Linked DNA regions of Homo sapiens: region 1 is linked to region 2. Evidence: promoter capture Hi-C in 16 types of primary human blood cells and fetal thymus (Javierre and others, 2016). All regions are on one chromosome and are shown on one strand. The core of a region is centred on a gene start or on the middle of the fragment in contact, and the rest is flanking DNA. Distances in the headings are between cores, read along the strand shown. Region 1 overlaps NEPRO-AS1 (NEPRO antisense RNA 1). Region 2 holds the start of CFAP44-AS1 (CFAP44 antisense RNA 1).

Region 1 (2,701 bases), core at 73-2,572, 350 kb after region 2:
CCCCCCAGGGTACATTTGACAATGCCTACAGACATTTTTAAATTGTCACACTCTTGCACGGGGAGGGTATGTTCTACTGGTATCCAGTGGATAGAGGCCAGAGATGCCACTAAATATCCTACAATGCACAGGATAGTTCCTACAACAAAGAATTCTCCCCTTCAAAATGTCAACAGTGCCAAGGTGCAGAAACCTCTGGCTAGAATGTAGTAGTCCCAGAAAGAAGCAGAAGGAAATAAGATTGGAAAGATAGATTGGTGTTAATTTGTAAAATGCCTTAAATGCCATATAATATACTGAAGGTTTCCAGAAAAGGTAAACATTGTATTTTCATTGATTTAATTAGTCTCATTCAATTAAACAATATTTGTTTATAGTATAATTCAATAAAAAGTGATAATGCTTATAGGTGACAAAAGAGAATTTTCTTTACAAAATTCTATAATTTTAAGCCTTGAGGTCATTTGAACAGAGACTTTCTAATGGAAAAGCATCTATTTGAATCCTTTCCCTGGTTAGTAGCTGGATTCCTCTGCCTCCGGCCACTCCTCCTGCCTCCACTCAAGGTATCATGGTTATTCATTGAAGCTTCTGGCTGAGTTGGCCCATAAAGCACAGGGCTGCTCAGGCGGACCTGGTCTCTTTAAGACTGTGACTAGGAACTCATCACTTGTTTAGAGTCACAGCTAGGTGTGGGTTCTCAGGAAAGACTGGCTGTGGTCCAGGACTAATACAAGATGTTTTGAACAGAAGTCTGGGGATCACTTTTTCTAAGCCTTATTTGTGTTGGAAAAGTTGAGTTCATATTATCATCACTTAATTGAGTCCTTTTTTCCCATACTCTTCCATTAGGAACCCCTGCGTCACCCCCTGAGTGGGGTATTAGACCCACTTTATAATGAAGAGGTTGATAATTGGCAGGAAGTTACTTAGGAAATACAGTGCCATCTAAGCCTATTTTCAACCTTTTGAACAAAGGTATCCGCCCAGAAATAATTTCCCAATGTGAAGGGGAGGAAGAAGATTATAGGGCACACCCTTCCTTCAGATTAAAGAAGGCTGCTTACTAAAGTTTGTACACTAGTGGTTCTCAAATCGTTAAGCTCAGGGAACATTTTCAAAATACTGGGATTTCTGATGGCACACTTAATGGGATTAAATGGAATCCACTGTGATTATCATACTACAATGGCATTCATACATTAAAGTTAAAAGGATACAACCTATGTGCCCAGAGAGAAAGAGAGGTTACAATTGAAAAAGTCAGACCATCCTCCCACCTTTCCACTCAGAAAGTGTATGCCCCATGGTAGGTTTGCCAGGTAAAATACAGGAGGCCAAGTTCATTTTGAATTTCAGATACATAATGAATATTTTTGAATATAAGTTTGTCCCATGCTAAACTCATTTATCGGAAATTCAAATGTAACTGAATACCTTGTATTTTTATTTGCTAAATCCAGCAACCCTCCTGAGAGAGCGTTAGATGGGAGTCTTCCATTCATTCCACCAGTATCTGTGCCCACACACTTCTCCTGGGTGAGCTTCTTGCTCCTTTAGATATGATTGTTGTTAACGATGCATACAACATGGCCCCTAAATCCAAGCCAACTACTTCAGCTAGTGTCAACCTAAAGAAATCACAATCTGTGTTAATGCTGGAGGGACTTACTGAGAGACGGTATGTTTGTCTCTGATATGGTACATTCCCTAAGTGTTTTTGTTATTTGGCAAACATTAATTGAGCATCAGAAATGTTCCGGGCACTTAGGATGGAACAAGAAACTAAACATTGCTGTTCTCATGGTGCCTACATACTTGTGGGAGGAGACTGTTCGATGCTCATTTTTATCCCAGAGTTGACCTGAGTTAGATGTGAGTTCATGTATCAGCTGCAACACACTTTAGGACCTTGTTATTTGAATACCTCTGCTTTCTGCCCTGATTATGTTTTCTCGTATATTCCTGAGGCAAAGTTCTTTCTATGCCAGCATCTCCCACAGTAGACCTTATGAAGATAGACAGCAATAAATACTGGTGTAAAAGATAAAGCTTTTAGGAACATGACTCTCTTAACTGAAAACTTTTTGTGTCTTGGCATGTGTGCATGTGCTTATGTGTGTTTGTGAGTATACAGATAATGCACAAATAATGGGTTTCCTGGAAATGTTGGTTGTACAGAGACTATCTTTCTTGATCATTTTTGTCCCCAAAGCAAGCACTTGAAAGAATTCAGTAACAACTTCTTGAGCAGAAAAGATGGCCTCTGCTCAGAGCTTGGTGCAGCAGCAGACACTGAAATGTGGCTTGGCTCTGTCTCTTGGCATAGTTCTAGGGTGTTATGTTCCACGAGAGGCCTTGGAGGGAGGAGGCACTGGTACCTTTTCAGAATCTCGTCAAATCAGGCACAGACTTGCTGGCAGCCACAGCAAAGGGATCTTACTGATCTTTGCCCAACTCTCAGGAGGTAACTGGCAAGACAGAAGAAAGCAAAACAAGCAACCAAATCCGAGGCCTTATAAATTTGACTTGGAAATTTTGTCTCAAGGCTGTCAAAGAGTAGAAATAATGATTTCATTTTCTCCAAGTCCCATTCTTGGGCATTTCGTATTTAACGCAGATAAAACACATTCGAGTACCTATCAACTTTTTTTCTTTCTTTTTTTTTTTTTAGTCTAGCCGTTCTCAGCATCAGGTGACT
Region 2 (2,921 bases), core at 140-2,639:
TTCTCAGAACAAATGGAAAAGGGAAGCTAGATATGAGTCACATTTCATAAAGGAATGCTTTGTAGGTTTTTGTCATCACTGCTGGCTTTCATCACTGGACAGAAGAAAATAAGTCTAAAGACTCTACCATAAATGGCTGAGGCTTAAGAACAGAATCAGTAAAGTCGGTAGGGTTGTTAAAAAATAGGTAGACCCAAGAGATAAAGGACTGAATAAAATCATCAGTTTCTCTAGATAAGGGGGAAATGGAAATGTAGACCTCTAGAGCATGCAGGTAAAAATTAGAATAGAGTTTCCCAAAGTGCATTTTTATGGAACATCAGTCTGTACAGAAGCTCCATAAAAATAAGACTTTTTAAGTCAAATTCCTTTGTATCTAAAAATTCCTCTTGGTGATTCCCAGCAAATACTTCTCTATTAAAAGTTCCCAGGGGTCCTAGAGAAAATAAAGTTGTTTGACTTTGTTTATCCTAGCAACAGCCTTCTGAGGCTGTGCAGTCAGAATAGGAGGTTTTGAGCCACCTTGCTTGGATTAGAATGCTGACTGGGTAGTTTTGGGCAAGTTACTTAACTGTTTTGTGCTTCAATGTTCTCCTCTGTAAAATGGGGATAATAATAGTCAGGGCTATCATTGGCCCATATGGTTCCTTTGCGGGGGTCAGAAAAAGCTGTTTGTTCTAGGAGAATGAGGTAACCAACATGCACAAGTGTACATGGTATCCCTGATAAATGTACCTAGTTCATATGGTTTTTTGCATTAAATAACTTAACATATATAAAGTACTGAACCAGTGCTTGGTACAGAGTCAGTACTCAATAAATATTACTTTATTTGTGACACTTGTTAAATATCTTAACAACTAATGTTTGGTGGCATGCACTTGGGAAAATGCCAGATTAAACAGGCTAATTTGAGAAAAGTTTTAGATGATTATCCTTGTTTGAAATTGGATACTATTATGCTATAATCTACTTAATTCAGTACTGGCCTTACAAGTTATCTAACATCTAAAATTTGATAGTATTACATTTAAAAAGTAGACTCTCATCTAATTCCACTCCTGTCTTTTGTCCTAAGAGATGTACCAAGAAGTCTATTGTATACATACATGAACAATTACCAACAACATACAGCCTAATCAAAAAGATGTAAAACTGATCATATTGCTGGAAGGAAATACATCAAAATGTTATTGGTAGTTGTGTCTGGGGTAGTAGGTCTTCATTTCTGTATTTTTTTATTTTTCCATTTAAAAATTTTATAATCAATAAAGATAACCTTAAAAAATAATTTTCACCTACTATTTGAGGCATAAATATGTACACTTACCTGTTTTAATGCACATTTCTTTTTTCCACATACCTGCCAGGTGCTCTCAGGGTCAGAATGGGGCAACATGCTGCTTTGGGAAGGTGGTCTGATCAAAGTGGAGCTCTGTCGAGGGACAAGCAAGTCATGTCACAATGGTCCCATTAACCAGATAATGCTGTATGAGGGTGAAGTTATCACTGTTGGGTCAGATGGATATGTTAGGGTAAGTTTTCTCGATACTTGGATGGTAGCACCCACGTTTAAGACTTGTAGCTCACCCAAAGGGTTTTATTTCTCATAAAGGTTATTTTGTGAAGGAGATCAGTAGTCATTTACTCCCAAGGCCAACTCACTTTAAATAATGCTTCTCTTGTGGTAAATATTTGCATTCTTGTCAAAATTAATTTACTGCATTTTACCACTGAAACTTTTTGAGAGGGCCTCTTGTTATTCTGATTCTGTTGAAATAATAGCTTCAGAAGATGAAAACTCATGTTAGCACAAGATGAACAGTAGACCCACATATCCTTCCAAAAGGCTCCATATGAATGGGCCATTTTGTAGGAACAAAGGTGCTGAACATTTGTTAGTTATTTTTTACTGAGGTTACCACTTAGAAATACACCCAGAGGTGAACTGATGGAGTTTGCCTATGGATGCTACATTCTTCTTGCTCCTTATGCTAGGGACCTCACTTGCTTTCTCTTGGGGACACTCTCTTGCCCAAAGCCTGGGCTAAGCTGGAACATTGCTCCAGCATCTAAGTCCCCTTGATTGCTATTGTCACACTTCTTCCACCCACTCTGTGTAGCACTTTCTGTTAATGAGTATTGTGCTGTGGCTGGTCAACCTGTAGCCTTGTGATTTGCCTTGTAGTCCTCTTGGTAGATATTTTCAGTGGGGCCTTTCATAAGAAAGTGGCAGTGTTCTATTGACATTCTTTAAGAAATGTTATCAAAAGTAAGATTCTTTTTTTTTTCTTTTTTAAGAGTCTGGTCACTCTGTTGCCACCGATTGAGCTTACTGTGTTTAATATTGTTTAACCCATATCTCCCACAGTGGGTCCTCTTACCACTGGCTTTTTGAGCCCCAGTGTATGTTTTTTACATTTACAATATTAAATTTAATCTTGTTAGATTTCACACATTTCTCTGAGAATCTTTTGTGTCCTTTATTTTGTCATATGATATATTTGCTATCTTTCCAAGATATACGTTACCCCAAAATGTCTAAATACCAAGTGGGAGAAAACCTCAGGAGAAAAGAAGTTAAATATTTCACAGAGGATCCCTTCATGGACACCAGTATTTCCTAAGCTTGCTTCTCTTTTCAGAGTCTGTCCTTGTCTTTTCAGTCCTTCACACAGTAAATCTTTACCTCTTACCCCATAGAAAAAACCTAGCCCAACTCCCAGGGGTTAGTCTGATCCTAGTTTGATCCTTAACCCTAACCCTGACCCTCAGATATTTCCCTCTTCCCCCAACCAGGCTAATCTATGGGACAGTCTTCCCAGAGTTCCTTTCTCAAAGTCTCAGTTATTCAGTCTAGGATCACATGGCAGGGTATGTTGCCAGAACTGTCCAGAATGAGCTTTGGCCCCTCACAGGGG

The links. Contacts are between HindIII fragments. The CHiCAGO score rates a contact against its expected background, and 5 or more counts as called.
Region 1: a contact is called between a fragment that was not itself captured here and the fragment with the promoter of CFAP44-AS1 in region 2, in 1 of 17 cell types (erythroblasts). The highest score is 5.2, in erythroblasts.

Annotation. Positions count from the first base shown.
Region 1 is chr3:113,051,679-113,054,379 of GRCh38, reverse strand. All of the region lies in intron 1 of NEPRO-AS1 (NEPRO antisense RNA 1), which reads right to left. LOLI1 (lncRNA oncogene in liver cancer 1) reads left to right here. Exons shown (of 3, transcript NR_189285.1): 3 at 2,675-2,701. Among named protein-coding and RNA genes, the nearest start is that of RMP64, 33 kb to the right of the region's middle. RefSeq lists an enhancer at 2,677-2,701. The HindIII fragment of the contact is 1,464 bases long and covers 591-2,054 here.
Region 2 is chr3:113,402,466-113,405,386 of GRCh38, reverse strand. It overlaps CFAP44-AS1 (CFAP44 antisense RNA 1), which reads right to left and starts at 1,389. Exons shown (of 6, transcript NR_046728.1): 1 at 1,331-1,389. CFAP44 (cilia and flagella associated protein 44) reads left to right here. Exons shown (of 35, transcript NM_001164496.2): 9 at 1,371-1,535. SPICE1-CFAP44 (SPICE1-CFAP44 readthrough (NMD candidate)) reads left to right here. Exons shown (of 52, transcript NR_183050.1): 27 at 1,381-1,535. The HindIII fragment of the contact is 6,429 bases long and covers 1-2,630 here.